Linked DNA regions of Homo sapiens: all the other regions are linked to region 1. Evidence: promoter capture Hi-C in 16 types of primary human blood cells and fetal thymus (Javierre and others, 2016). All regions are on one chromosome and are shown on one strand. Each heading gives the region's core, a stretch centred on a gene start or on the middle of the fragment in contact. The rest is flanking DNA. Distances are from core to core; before and after follow the strand shown.

What was found. The method cuts DNA at HindIII sites, captures the fragments that hold promoters and counts their contacts. A CHiCAGO score of 5 or more calls a contact.
Region 2: a fragment that was not itself captured here is called in contact with the fragment with the promoter of H1-10-AS1 in region 1 in 1 of 17 cell types (total B cells); the score reaches 7.0 in total B cells.
Region 3: a fragment that was not itself captured here is called in contact with the fragment with the promoter of H1-10-AS1 in region 1 in 2 of 17 cell types (total B cells and naive B cells); the score reaches 8.0 in total B cells.
Region 4: a contact is called between a fragment that was not itself captured here and the fragment with the promoter of H1-10-AS1 in region 1, in 2 of 17 cell types (naive B cells and total B cells). The highest score is 6.1, in naive B cells.

Annotation. Positions count from the first base shown.
Region 1 is chr3:129,314,202-129,317,683 of GRCh38, forward strand. It overlaps H1-10-AS1 (H1-10 antisense RNA 1), which reads left to right and starts at 2,070. Exons shown (of 5, transcript NR_026991.1): 1 at 2,070-3,144. It overlaps H1-10 (H1.10 linker histone), which reads right to left and starts at 2,085. Exons shown (of 1, transcript NM_006026.4): 1 at 570-2,085. The coding sequence starts at 1,701. The coding sequence ends at 1,060. RefSeq lists silencers at 624-913, 1,294-1,423, 2,224-2,563. The HindIII fragment of the contact is 12,756 bases long and covers 1-3,482 here.
Region 2 is chr3:128,988,736-128,992,217 of GRCh38, forward strand. It overlaps CFAP92 (cilia and flagella associated protein 92 (putative)), which reads right to left. Exons shown (of 16, transcript NM_001394090.1): 3 at 1-183. Among named protein-coding and RNA genes, the nearest start is that of CFAP92, 3.6 kb to the right of the region's middle. The HindIII fragment of the contact is 1,595 bases long and covers 1,086-2,680 here.
Region 3 is chr3:129,014,230-129,017,711 of GRCh38, forward strand. The region is part of intron 2 of EFCC1 (EF-hand and coiled-coil domain containing 1); the gene reads left to right. It also overlaps a transcript of CFAP92 not described here. Among named protein-coding and RNA genes, the nearest start is that of EFCC1, 15 kb to the left of the region's middle. RefSeq lists enhancers at 1,697-2,204, 1,918-2,027, 2,048-2,097, 2,775-3,276 and a silencer at 2,878-3,037. The HindIII fragment of the contact is 2,409 bases long and covers 552-2,960 here.
Region 4 is chr3:129,048,612-129,052,093 of GRCh38, forward strand. No RefSeq gene overlaps it. Among named protein-coding and RNA genes, the nearest start is that of GP9, 10 kb to the right of the region's middle. The HindIII fragment of the contact is 1,796 bases long and covers 848-2,643 here.

The sequences.
Region 1 (3,482 bases), core at 820-3,319:
TTCTGCTCCTACTAATTTTCCCAGCAATCCTTTGGGTCCCGTTTGCACTCTAGCTTAACCAATAGGCTCAGAGACAGCAAATACCCTTCTGAGACCACACGTTGGATTGTGGTCAGGAACTCCACTCTCTGGCCACCACACTTCGTCCTGGTCACATCTCACTCTAACCCTCGCTGGAGTCAGAATGACTAAGTTTACAGGCCAGTCTGGTGTGACTTTGTAAGAACTACCTCTCTGGAGGCCAAGTTTAGGTCCCTGACCATTAACTCTGAAAACCCATTAATCCCCCCTCCTCTCCCCTCCCCCATCCCGCTCCCCGCAATGGCCGATGGACCCCCTGTGGGGGCAGATAGATCCATCCCTCCTAAGGGACCGATCCTGTCTATCTCCCTGTCCCAGGTACTTTAAGTTCGTCCCAAGCCAGCAATTCCCACCCCTTGCTGAAGGCCCCTGGCTCCAGGCCTACCCTGGCCAACAGATCTGGGGTATAAGGACCCGAGGGGCCCGCCATCCAACCCCGCGTGCCGAAGGCGCCCATCCCTATTCCACTCAGATTAAACGAGAGAGGCTGAAAGGTTTAAACGCTTTATTGTGCCCAAAAAAAGGCCCATGGAATGAAGGGAAGAGCCGCGCAGCCCTGAGCCCGGAGCGATTGTTTGTCGCGCACCCAAAGGCAAGGAGGGTGGGGAGCTGGGAAAGGATGCGCGGCCTCCGCGTCCCCGCGCGCCTGGGCCCGGCCAACCAGCGACCCCGCCCGGTGGGCAGGCGCGGCCTCGGCCATCGGCGCCTAGGGGCCAGTAACCATGACGACGGCCGTTGCCAAGGCCGAGAGCCAATAGAGGCGTCGCCGGGGCTGTTTCAAAAACCTAAAGCAAACAACGAAAAACGCTACATCGTTGGGGGAGGGGAAAGACTGAGAGGACCCGGGGCCCCTCCCTGAGGCTCAGACCAGGCCTCGCGGCCCCGGCCGGCGTGAGCCGTACAAAATCTACGTCACTTGGGGTAGAAAAACAAAAACACCGAAAAGCCCACGCCGGCCGCTCTGACCGGCCGACACGCTCACTTGCGGCCCTTGGGCACTTTGGGGACGCTGGGCTTGGCCGCCTTCTTCACCTTCTTGCCCCCGGCGGCCGCCGTCTTCTTGGCCTTGCCGCCTTTGTCCTTCTTGGCGCCAGCGCCCTTCTTGTGCGAGCGCTGCTCCGGCTTCTGGCCCCTGGCGGGCTTCTTGTCCGCGCGCCGGGAGCCGGCCGCGCCCGGGGCTGCCTTCTTCGCTTTGTGCGCGGTGGGGGCCGGGGCGGTGGCGGCCGCCGGGGCTCCGCGCCGCTCCCCGCCGCCCTCCAGCTTCTTGCGGTTGAGCTTGAAGGAACCGTTGGCGCCGGTGCCCTTCACCTGCAGAAGCGTGTCGTTCTGCACCAGCGCCTTGATCGAGTACTTGAGGTAGGTGCGCCCATTCTGCTGGTCGAACCACGGAACCTTCTTGGCCTCGGTGTAGATCTTGGCCAGCGACGAGCCGTTGCGCTCGCCCAGCCTACGGATGGTCTCCACCACCAGCTGGCTGTACTTGCCCGGCTGGTTCTTCTTCTTGCTATTCTTCCTCTTCTTAGATGGGGACAACGCCGCCGAGCCGCCAGCCTTGGTCACCTTCTTGGCCATTCCCTCGGCGGTCGTCACTGGCAGGGCCTCCTCGAGCTCCACGGACATGGTAGCAAGAGGATTGGTGGCGGGCGGCGCGCGGAAGCCGGGGGGCCGCGCCGGGAAGAGGAAGGCGAGGGGCCGAGGGGGTGCAGGGGGGCTGGGGGCGCGCGGCGGCTCCAGGCGGGAGCGGCCGCGGCCGGGCCTGGGGCCGGGCGGCAGGGCTGGGGTGGGGGCCGGGCCGGGCCGGAGCGAGGGTTGGGGGGCCCGGAGCCGGGGCCGGACTAGGGGACCGAGTTGGGGGTCAGAGACCGAGTCCGAGCCGGCGGCTGGAGCTGGGGACGTAGACCTAGGCCGAGCCGGAGCGAAGAGAAATCCCGCCGAACGCGAGACACCGCCGCCGCAGCTTCCACTGGCGCCTCTGGAACTCGCTGGGCGTGCGCGCTGCGCTCTGGCGGGAGGGCGCTTCTCTCGGCTTTTTATAGCTTCATGGCGGACCACGTTGAGAACAACAACAGCCTGGTCCGGGGCCAGCGCCAACTTGTGCTTCTTGGAGCCCCTTCTCCGGCCGCTGGCTTCTCGGACCGCGCCTCTCCAGCGCCGCCGCGCCCGCAGCGGGGCGCCCCGGACAGGGCCTGAGCTCCCGGCGCAGTGGAGAGGCGACTTGCGTCCTGGAAGGGCTCAGCAAAGGCGAACGGAGAGGTGCACCCTAGGCTGCGGGAGCGCGAGAGGAGGGGGGCACCTCGTTTGGAGGCCAATAGCGCGGGCCCCAGAGGAGGCCCCACGGCCGGGAGCTTGGCGGCCGGCAACCCAGAGAACGCCACGGGCACCCGAGCCTTGTCCCGGCCCGGGGGGCTCCAGGCCTGCCCGCAAGAGGAGCTTTAATTTGTCCAAACTAACACAGGGCGCGCCCTCACGTGGTCGGCTGGGGCAACGTGAACTGCGCTAGGACATCCTCGGGGGTTTTCCGCCCCATCCAAAGGGGATGGCGGATGGGAGGCACTCTCCAGCTGCACCCCGGGTTCTGGTTGTGCCTCTGGGAGCCTAGGCACAACCCGGGGAATGGAGGACTACGGCAGGACCTCTCTAGGGACACTGCCTCGCCGCTCCCCCCACCCTGTTGCCGCTGATGTTCCCAGGGCCTCATTTTGTAATCCACAAGTAGCTGCCGCCGGTCCCCCCAAAGCCAAATGGGGGCTCCAGGGTGGGACAGGGTGGGCGGGGGTGAGGCTGTGACACCCAGAGGAATTCCTGTGAGAGGATGGGGAAGGGATTCGCTCTTAGTTCCTGGGTGCACCCCTCCCCCTCTCCCGTGCACAGGGAAATGATGGCGGGAACACAGCAAAGGAGACCATGTCCTGGAGAGGGTCCCGGGCCCCACCCTCCCCGGGGGGGCTTGTGCAAGGCTGGCGGCCCGATCTCTGCTGATTCCAGTATTGGGGGTGCAGAGAAGGCACAGGACAGTTTTTGTTGAAGCCGTTGCAGCCTCCACTTGGGGAAGCTGAGGCCAGGGTAAGATGCTCGGGTAGGAGAGGGGATCCCTTTGGGGGTAGGTGATGTAGGGCACAGGAGTGGGGCTGGGGCTGGGGGGTGGCAGGGTTGCAGGCAGGAGACAGTCTCCAGAGGCCCAGCATAGAAAAGCGATGGAGGGGTGAGGGGGGACAGGACGCTGGCGAATTGGGGTTCCCAGAGTGAGAGACAGGAACATTTACAGGTGGACAGAGTAAAAGGCCCTGAAAAGGGGGTGGGTTGGTGCATTTGTGGCCTTGGGCCCAAGCAGGCTTCTCTGGGTGAGGGCTAGCAGCACCTCCCCTCTTCTCCAGCTCACCCCTTTCACACACACACACGCC
Region 2 (3,482 bases), core at 633-3,132, 330 kb before region 1:
CTGACTCCAGGAATACTTTGGCCACCATTGGAAATAGCAATATGTCAACTTTTTTAGGTTCTTCATCGTCCGGCAGAAGGAAATACTCAATGTGGTAAAAACGACGCATCTTTGTAACAGAACTGTCTGTTTTAGGGTGTTTCTTATATTTTTCAATCAAACTTGCATATTTTCCCTTCTGACCTTGAAGATACAGATTGAAAAAGTCTCGTTTTAACCTCATGTGGAAAAGCAGACCCGTCTCCCCAGTTCCCTGGAGCTTGATGTTGTGAGAGGCTGAGCACTCCACATTGCCTGCCCGACTTGGGGAAGGAGGTACAGGTCCAGTGCTCCTAGCCAGCAGAGTAGCACGACCTGGACTGGGCACCTGAGTGCAAAATTTAGGTGCATGGTTTTCAGAGTGAGTGTCTCAGTTGGAGAGTGAGTGTTGGTTAGTAGGCCTAGGGTTAAAAAGGTGATAGAGTTAAAGTGAAATCACATGGCCAGGCCAGATGTTATTAGGAGAGACGCCATACTTGCCTTACCCTGGTCCCTCCTGGCCCTAAGAAGCAGGTAAAAAAAAAAAAAAAAAAAAATCACAGTACAATGTGATTTGTGCAATAATAGCAGCAGGAACAAGGTTGTGAAGAACGAAGGTGGAGGAGAAAACTCTGCATGGGGAGGGTGGGGTGGGCCTCCCAGGGGGACCTTAGCAGAGTCTTAGAGGAGCAAAGCTGGCAGATATTCCAGACAGACAGAGAAAGCAGCTTCACAAAAATGTCATGGGTGAAGCTACCCAATGCGGGGTGGATAGGGTGACAGGATGTGGAAGGTACAGATGGGCTTCTGCCAGAGTCCAGAGCCCAAGGAGCCCCCTGACCCCACCCCTGGTTGCTTACACTCCAGCTTAAACTGCACACTCTAGGTTGGGGCTTTTCACATCATAAGAAGCTCCATAAACATTTAATCCAAATATCATTCTATAAAAACATGACTGTCTTTAAAGCTGTAGTTTTTAAAGTCTAAATTTTTAACCCCAGGAGACTGCTGCAGCATTAATTTTTCTGCTACCAAAATAGTTAGCATTTGTGCAGAGATTGGAGTGAAGCTTCTCCTGCCAGTCTCTGGTAGCATTAGACCTTTTCTGATTCAATCCCAGGTGGGCCAGCAAGTGGACAAACAGAGCCTCTCATTTTCTGTAGACAGAAAGGCAAGTTATTTAGCCCTTTTAAAGGGGAAGTTGACAATATCTATCAAAAACTATTAATACATGCCTTCAATCCAGCAAATTTACTTCTTGGAATACAGGCAACAGAAGTGCCCACATATATGCACAAAAATGGACGTAAAGAATGTCTATCGCAGAATTGCAACAGAAAAACATTTGAAACAACTCAAATATCCACCAATAAGGGGTAGGATAAATTAGAGACATATAATGGAATACTGTTAATATATAGGTGTTTAAAATGAAACAACAAAATTAAAACAAGTATCCTTGCCCAGGCAAAGTGGCTCATGCCTGTAATCCTAGCACTTTGGGAGGCCCAGGCAGGAGGATGATCTGAGGTCAGGAGTTCCAGACCAGCCTGGCCAACATGGCGAAACCCCGTCTCTACTAAAAATACAAAAATTAGCTGGGCATGGTGGCATGTGCCTGTAGTTCCAGCTGCTTGGGAGGCTGAGGCAGGAGAATCGCTTGAACCCAGGAGGCGGAGGTTGCAGTGAGCCAAGATCGCGCCACTGTACTCCAGCCTGGGTGACAGAGAGAGACTCTGTCTAAAAACAAACAAACAAAAACAAGTATCCTTGATCATATTCTCAAAGATAATCTAAATCATGTCAAAACATTTTAAAGTAAGTTGTAGGATCTCATTTCTCTGAAATAAACAATTTATAGGTCGGGCGTGGTGGTTCACGTCTGTAATTCCAGCGTTTTGGAAAGCCAAGGCGGGTGGATCACCTAAGGTCAGGAGTTCAAGACCGGCCTGACCAATATGGTGAAACCCCATCTCTACTAAAAATACAAAAATTAGCTGGGCGTGGTGGCATGTGCCTGTGGTCCCAGCTACTTTGGGAAGCTGAGACAGGAGAATTGCTTGAACCTGGGAGGTGGAGGTTGCAGTGAGCCGAGATTGTGCCACTGAACTCCAGTCTAGGCAACAGAGCAAGACTCCGTCTCAAAAATAAATAAATAAATAATTTATATAAAGAAACATTTATGTACTCATCTGTAAATACTCAGGTATTGAAGGAAAAAAAAATTAAACTAGAATTTTATGTAGAGCCGAAGGTATGTCATTTAAAGGTATTGGCATGATAAAAAAATACTCTTAGGCACACAAGGTCTCATGAAGTTTTGCCCCACAGAGATCCATTTTATAAATGCCTTTAGAGGACAACAACAACAAAAACAAAAACATGCTTAGAAGATGCTGTGAAAGAGATGAGGGCTAAAGGAGGTCAAGTGCCAATTTTCTTTTGGTTGGTATTTGCCAGATGTCTTTTTCCAGGCTCTTTTGCTTTATAGCAATAGACCCAAGAGTAAAGGCATCATTTTAGACAGGAATGGTCACCATAAAATGACAAAAAGTTCAGTTCACCAAGAAGATGGAGCAGTTCTAAACATACTATACACCCAACCAGTCGGCCTCCAAAATAGCTGAAGCAACCATCTGTAAGACTCTCCCCAGGGCCTGAAAGCTTAAGGAGATGAATAACTCCTCCCTTCTCAAGCCTAGTCCCAAGGCGTAAGGTCACTTACGTCAGCAGCGTGCACCAGCAAAATAGCAGAAGCAGGAGGAGAGCCGGCTGGAATACACCTACCCTGGCCGGAAGACATGAAGATGAGAAAGAGGCCATCCGGGTACAGCGTAGCAGTTACGCCAGACTAGGACACTTCCTGTTTACAGGAGACTATAAAACCTTTGCCCCGTCCTCACTTGGGGCTGACGCCATTTTAGGCCTCAGCCGGCCTGCACCAAGGCGTTCATTGAAACAGCATGTTGCTCCACACCGCCTCGTGTTGTCTGTTGGTGCGCTCTCGGGGTTCCAACCCATACAAGAAACTTACACCATCGACAGAATACCAGGAGAAGTTGAAATCATAATGGTGGGCTAGTTCAAGTAAGCAGATGAAAACAAAACAAAGCAAGGTCTATCAAGATGTGAAGTACTACTTGTCTCCTCCCCTCATATTGGGCTGGAACCATGTGACTTGGTTTGGCCAATAAAATGCTAGCAGGTGGGAGACACTCAAAGACTTGAGGAGTGTTTGTGGGGCTAGGCTTGCCCTCCTGTGTGTCCGTGTTTCTAGAACAAGAAGGGGTCTAGGATAGCCCACTGGTCCAGGAGGAAAAGGAGCAGCATGAAGCAGAGCTGAGCTGTTGCAGAACCCAGCCTAGACCAGCGCCCAGCACCTCCAGGAGAACCTCAGGTTCCTGTGTGCAGCCATGAGCTTGGGGGCTTGTTTGGGTTTGTTGCACCGCATTTTTGTGGCAATA
Region 3 (3,482 bases), core at 506-3,005, 300 kb before region 1:
GTTACGCTGTTGACCACCAGTAACTAAGCGGGTGGACGAGGGGAGGGTCAGGGAGTGTGAGTCAGCTCGGGCTGCTGTGACAAGCCCCACAGACCAGGAGCTTCAACAACAGGCATTTGTCTCCCACAGCTGTGGAGGCTGACCAGAGTGCGGTGTCGCAGCGTTGGCTTCTCCTGCGGCCTCTCTCCTGGGCTGGCAGCCAGGGCCGCCTTCTCCCTGTATCCTCGCGTGGTCTTCCTTCTGTGTGTATTTCTGTCCTAATCCCCTCTTCTTAGAAGGACACCAGTCAGACTGGATTAGGGCCCACCCTAAAGACCTCATTTTAACTTGATTACCTCATTAAAGGTCCCATCGCCAAATAAGATCACATTATGAGGAGCTCTGGGGGTCTGGACATCAACATATGAATTGGGGAGACACAACCAGCCCATCACAGGAGACTTCTCTGAGATGTGACCCTGGAATTGAGGCCTGAGTGGCAAGGTGGGGCCATGACTTGTGTGATCCAGGGCGGAGGTGACTCCCATAGCAAAATCACAGGGCTGGGCACAAGCTTGGCTTGTCTGCACTGCCTGCACGGGGACGAGCAGGTTGGAGCCAGCCTGGATGCCGAGGGGCCAGTGAGGAGGGGCCAGTGAGGAGGAGCAGGTGAAGAGCCCTCCTCACCTGTACACACGGAGTCCTGCTAAGTCTCAGCTCCAAGTGGCTCAGACCCACCTGCTACTCTCCAGTCGCACCCACCACCCAGCCCAGCCCCAGCACCACTCCTGGACAGCTGTCCTAGCCTCCTGACTGGTGTCCCAGCTCCATCAGAACCACGGACCACACAGCATCAGGTTAATCTTTTCAACACCCAGATCCCACCTCGGGCTCGCCCACTCACAACTCTCCTGTGACCTCCTCTGGTGACCATCATGACTGTGAGTGACCAGGCCCTTTCCCATCCTCTCCTGCAGCCACACTGACCCTCCAGGGCTCCCCTTCTCAGGCCCTTTGGGCATACGGCTCCCTCCACCATCCCCAAGCCTACTCCTGACCAATCCACATTCACCCTTCAGGTCTTGCCAGACCCCAACTCTTTAGGGAGGCCCCACCTCCATCTACAGCCTCTTCCTAACGTCTTTCACGGCCCCTGGACTTTTCTGTCCTTCATGTATTTTTGTGATGACTTCATTGAGGTCTGCTCCTTCGGGGGGGGAGGTTGCGGGGTAAGCTCTGTGAGGTCAGGGGCCATGCCATTGCTAAGGACAGTGGCTGGCTCAATACTTCATCCTTCGGTGAATTAAAGAACCAAGTCAGCAGCTTGGGCTGGCAGGGCCTTAGAAGTCACCCAGCCCAGGCTGACACCCTGCACGGCGCCCCCGAGAGCTGAGTGTCCGTGTCTGCTCGCACACTCCTGTTGCACCCTTCCCACCGCCATCCCCTGCTCAGTAAAGTTGGGGGGGTTCCCGAATTCAGGTAGGGACCAGAGAGGAGTCACAGAGGACCCCTGAGGACTGTCCCCCCACCCCTTGTGATTTATTTTCCGCCCTTCCTCTGCTGCATCCCGCCCCCCTACCCCAAGCTGTTCTTCCTGCTGTTGTTCTCTTGTTTTCACATGTTGCTCTCTGTTTCCTGTAAGGCTGCTTCACTCAGGAAACGCCATGCAGCAAAGGAAGCCGCTGTGTGCGAACCTCCAGGACCTCCCAGAGTAGGTGCTGCAGCGTGGCCGTGGCCTGATGGCCCAAAGTAGCCTGGCTGGGTTCTGAGGGACCTGTCAGCTCTGCAGCTTCCTGAGACTTGCTGAGTCACTGAGCGGCTCAGAGCATAGGAAGCAGAGAGAAAAAGACAGCAGTGACATTTTTCATCTATTCCAGAATAAACTGAGCCCAGGCGGTGTAATGGGCTTTTGATGCGTCCCCCTGGCTTTGATGTGATGCCTTGACCGCTCCCTTGGTTACAGCAAGTTAACCGGTCAAACACTAAGCTACAGTTGCTGTACAGGTATTCTGCATATGGATTAAAGTCTGTCATCAGTTGACTTTAGGTAAGGGACATTATCCTGGCTGGTCTGGGTGGGCTTCAAGAGCCAAACAGGCTTCTGTGTGAAAGAGAAGTTCCACCTGTGGACAGAAGGGTGTGGAATCCATCTACAGCCAGGCCTACAAGCTGTAGCTCTTTCTGAAGGACTTTATGACAAGGAAGTGGGCTGTGTGATTGTGGGGGCTGGCTAAGCAAGCCTGAAGTCCACAAAAGGGAAGCTGGCAGGCAGGTGGAGCTCATGGGCACGCCCGTGTCTAGAGCCTCTGGGGAAGCCCATAAGCCGTGCCCGTGAGCTCCACCTGCCTGCCAGCTTCCCTTCTGTGGATTCCAGACTCATTTAGCCAGCCCCCGTGATCACACAGGCCACCTGCTTGTCATAAAGCCCTGGAGACAGAGCTACAGCTGCAGGCATGGCTGTAGATGGATTCCACACACTGGCCCCACTTCTCTGGTCAAACCCTGACTCGTACAGGGCCTGAGGCAGGAGGGGGCGGAACTGATTAAGGAACAAAAGCTAACATTTTTGAGCACTCACTGGGTGTTAGGCACTGCACTAAGGACTTTATCTGTACAACCTTATTGCACTCCCAAGCAGTGCTGTGAGTGGTTTATCAGTGATGATGCTTTATGCTGCAAGAACATAAAACCCAACTCAGAATGGCTTAAACCACAAGGACATTTATTATCTCATGTGAGAAGTCCAGGGGAGAGCAGTTCCTTGGCAGTTCAGTAAAGTTTTCAAGGACCTGATTCATCTTCCACTCTGTTTTCCTCAGCTTGTCATTTTGGCCTGTCAGCAAGGACCCCTCATGGTTGCAAGAGAGCTGCCATGGCCTCAGGCATCACTGCCATATCCACGGGTCCTCCTGGCAGACTTCCCCTCACCTCTCTTTGGCCAGAATTGCATCACATGCCTGTTTCTAAACCAATCTGAAGGAAGCTTCATGATTGAGGCTTCGTGAAGGCGGCTTCATGATTGGCTCAGGCCAGTCAAGTCTCTCTGGGAGCACAAGGCCACAGTCGGGGTTGAGCTGACAGCAGATGGGGTGTGGTTGTTTGGATGGCTGAATTTGGTTTCTATCACAACCATAGCCGATCACCACACTCTTAGTGACTTGAAACAACACCCACCTGTGACCTCATAATTCCGTAGGCCGGAAGTCCAGGCGGGCGTGGCGGGCTTCTCTGCACAAGCTCGCACAAGGCCGAAAGCAAGGCACCCTTGGCCGGGTCTGGACCCCCTGGGAAAGCCCGTTCCAGTGTTGGCAGAATCCAGCTCCTTTTGGCCGTGGGACCGAGGCCCTATTTCCTTGCCGGCTGTCAGCTGGGGTTGCTCTCTGCATTCCTTCACCCACATTGCTTTCATCTTCCAGCCAGCAACGACCTGCCCCATGTCCTTCTCACACTTCACATCTCTCTCACAGCCTCTTCTACACCAGCCCAGAAAGCTATCTGCATTT
Region 4 (3,482 bases), core at 496-2,995, 270 kb before region 1:
TCTACATAGATGACCATATCATCAGCAAAGTTGGAGAAAATCCAAAAGAATCGACAACATGTTACTGAAACTAATTAGCAACTATACCAAAGTTGTAGGATACAGGGTTCATACACAAAAGCCAATCACCTTTTTTTTTTTTTTTTTTTTTTTTGAGATGGAGTCTCACTCCGTCACCCAGGCTGGAGTGCAGTGGTGTGATCTTGGCTCACTGCAACCTCGGCCTCCCGGGTTCATGCCATTCTCCTGCCTCAGCCTCCCAAGTAACTGGGACTACAGGTGCCCATCACCACGCCCGGCTAATTTTTTTTTTTTTGTATTTTTAATAGAGATGTTAGCCAGGATGGTCTCGATCTTCTGACCTCATGATCCTCCCGCCTTGGCCTTCCAAAGTGCTGGGATTACACGCGTGAGCCACTGCGCCCAACCAAGCCAATCACTTTTCTATATACCAACAATGAACAAGTGGAATTTGAAATTCAAAATACAATACCATTTACATTAACACCCCCAAATACAAAATACTTAAGTATAAATATTTTAAAATATATGTATAAGCTCTATGTGAGGAAAGCTACAAAACTGTTATGAAAGAAATCAAAGAACGAAATAGATGGAGAGAGATTCCGTGTTTAAGAGCAAGAAGACTCAATATTGTCAAGATCTCAGTTCTTCCCAGCTTGATCTACAGACCAAATGCTATCCTGATCGAAATTCCAGCAAGTTACTTTGTGGATATTAACAAACTGATTCTAAAGTTTATATGGAGAAGCAAAAGACCCAAAATAGCCAACACAATATTTAAGGAGGAGAACAAAGTTGGAGGACTGACATGACCCAACCTCAAAGCTTATGCTAAATCTACAGTAATCAAGACAGTGTGGTATTGGTAAAAGAACAGACAAATAGATCAATGGAACAGAATAGAGAGCCCAGAAGTATACCCATAGTCAACTGATGTTTTTACAAAGGAACAAAGGAAATATAATGGAGAAAAATTATTTTCAACGAATGATGCTAGAACAACTGGACATCCAAATGGAAAAAAAAATTTAGATATAGACCTTACACTCTTAGGAAAAATTAACCCAAGGCCAGGCACAGTGGCTCACGCCTATAATCTCAGCACTTTGGGAGGCTGAGGCGAGTGGATGACCTGAGGTCAGGAGTTCGAGACCAGCCTCGCCAACATGGTGAAACCCCGTCTCTACTAAAAATACAAAAATTAGCCAGGCATGGTGGTGGGGACCTATAATCCCAGCTACTCGGGAGGCTGAGGCAGGAGAATCGCTTGAACTCAGAGCAGGGCAGGGGGAGGGGCAGGTGGAGGTTGCAGTGAGCCAAGATCACATCACTTCACACCAGCCTGGGCGACAGAGCAAAACTCCATCTCAAAAAAAAAAAAAAAGAAATGAGCTACCAAGCCATGAAAAGACATGTAGGAACCTTAAATGCATATTACTAAGTGAAAGAATTTAATCTTTAAAGGCTAAATATTATATGATCCTAACTGTATGACATTCTGGAAAAGGCAAAACTATGGAGACAGTAAAAGGATCAGTGGTTGCCAGGGATTAGGAGATGGGGAAGGATGAACAAGGGGGCCCAGAAGATTTTTCAGGGCAACAACACTATTCTGTATGATACCATAATGGTAGATATGTGTCATTAGACATTTGTCTCGACCCATAGAATGTCTGACTCCAAGAGTGGGCCCTCAGAAACTACGGACATTGGGCAATAATGGCATGTCCTTGTAGTTTCATCAGTAATAACATATGCCCCACTCTACTGGGGATGTTACTGATATGGAAGGCTGTGCATGTTGGGGGGCAGGGCGTGTATAGGAACTGACTTTCCACTCAATTTTTGCTGTGAACCCAAAATAAAGCCTATTTAAAAAGAAAAAAAGAAAGAACTAGAGAATGGATAGAGGCAGCCTCTTAGCTATCTCTGCACAGAGTCAGCCTAGTGTTGGGGCATCCTGGACCCTCTGAACGTCACTGGTTTGCAGCCTGGATGGCCTTCCCTTTTGCCCAGTGGGGAGAGGCTGAGACTTCTGTAATTTCAGCACCTTGGTGTTGGGTGTGACCTAAGCACCTGCCTGATGCCCTGCCCTGGCCCACAGCCGGCCTGCTGCTGTCAGCTCAGCATGAGCCTCAGAGTTCATGAGGGCCTCAGAGGACCAGGGGGCTTCCCTGGAGGAAAACCCAGATGAGGAGACCAAAGGCAGCGTCAACATTTGTGATTCACAGAGACCAGGCATGGGGCTTCTCCCACATCCACGTTTTACTGCTGGGGACACTGATGAGGACTCGTGCTCACAGCCACACAGCACAATAGCAGAGCCAGGACTCAGAGCTCAGCCCGGGTCACCCAAGCCCACACTCGAAACCACTCGACAAGGCTGCACCAAGATCAGCAGGCAGGGCCTGTACTGAGTGCCAAGCCCTGAGGCCACGGAAAGAGAGGGGGTAAGAGGGTGCAATTTCATAGAAAGATGGAGGTATGCCTTTGTCCACTGAGCTGAAGTCTGAGACGATGTCTCGAGGGAGCAAAACGGTGGCACCCAGGGAGCTGCAACCATGGGAAACATGGGGTCTCCTTTGGCCAGAAACAGAGTAAGCCAACAATTCCTGAGAAAGCTTCACCAAAAAAAGAACCTCCCCTGATATTTGGGTCCAAGAAATAGCCACGACTCTGACCTAAAAGGTTCCTGGCTGGGAGCGGTGGCTCACGCCTATAATCCCAGCACTTCAGGAGGCCAAGGTAGACAGATCACTTGAGGCCAGGAGTTCGAGACCAGCCTGGCCAATATGTCGAAACCCTGTCTCTACTAAAACTACAAAAATTAGCTGGGTGTGATGGTGCACACCTGTAGTCCCAGCTGGCTGAGACGCTGAGGCATGAGAATCACTTGAACCCAGAACACAGAGGCTGCAGTAAGCGAAAATCCCACCACTGCACTCCAGCCTGGGTGACAGAGTGAGACTCTGCCTCAAAAAAAAAAAAAAAAAAAGGTTCCTGTAACTTGAGGGTCCTAGGGACTACTAGTTACTAGTAACTAATTAATCCCTTGATTGATGCCTCTCCGTAAAGGTTAGAGCTTTATTTTCTGATAGAAGCCTTGCAGTTACTTGAATTTGAAAATTTCCTGTTAAGATATATGCACAAAGTCTCCTCCTTCAAGATGGGAAGCCTACATGTGAGCCCAGGAGTTCAAGATTACAGTGAGCCATGATTGCACCACTGCACTCCAGTGTGGGCAACAGAGCAAAACCTTGTCTCTTAAAAAAAAATCGTAAAGGCTCATTAACACTTTTCCCTTTGAAAGTGAGCTAGATAGACTTTATGACTCACCAATAAACAGAGTGTGGCAGAGTTGCTGGTGCAGCTTCTGAGACCAGGTCATAAGAGGCCTGGCAGCTCCCTCCTTGCTCTCCATCAGATCCCTTGCTTGGGGGAAAGATAGCTGCCCTGTG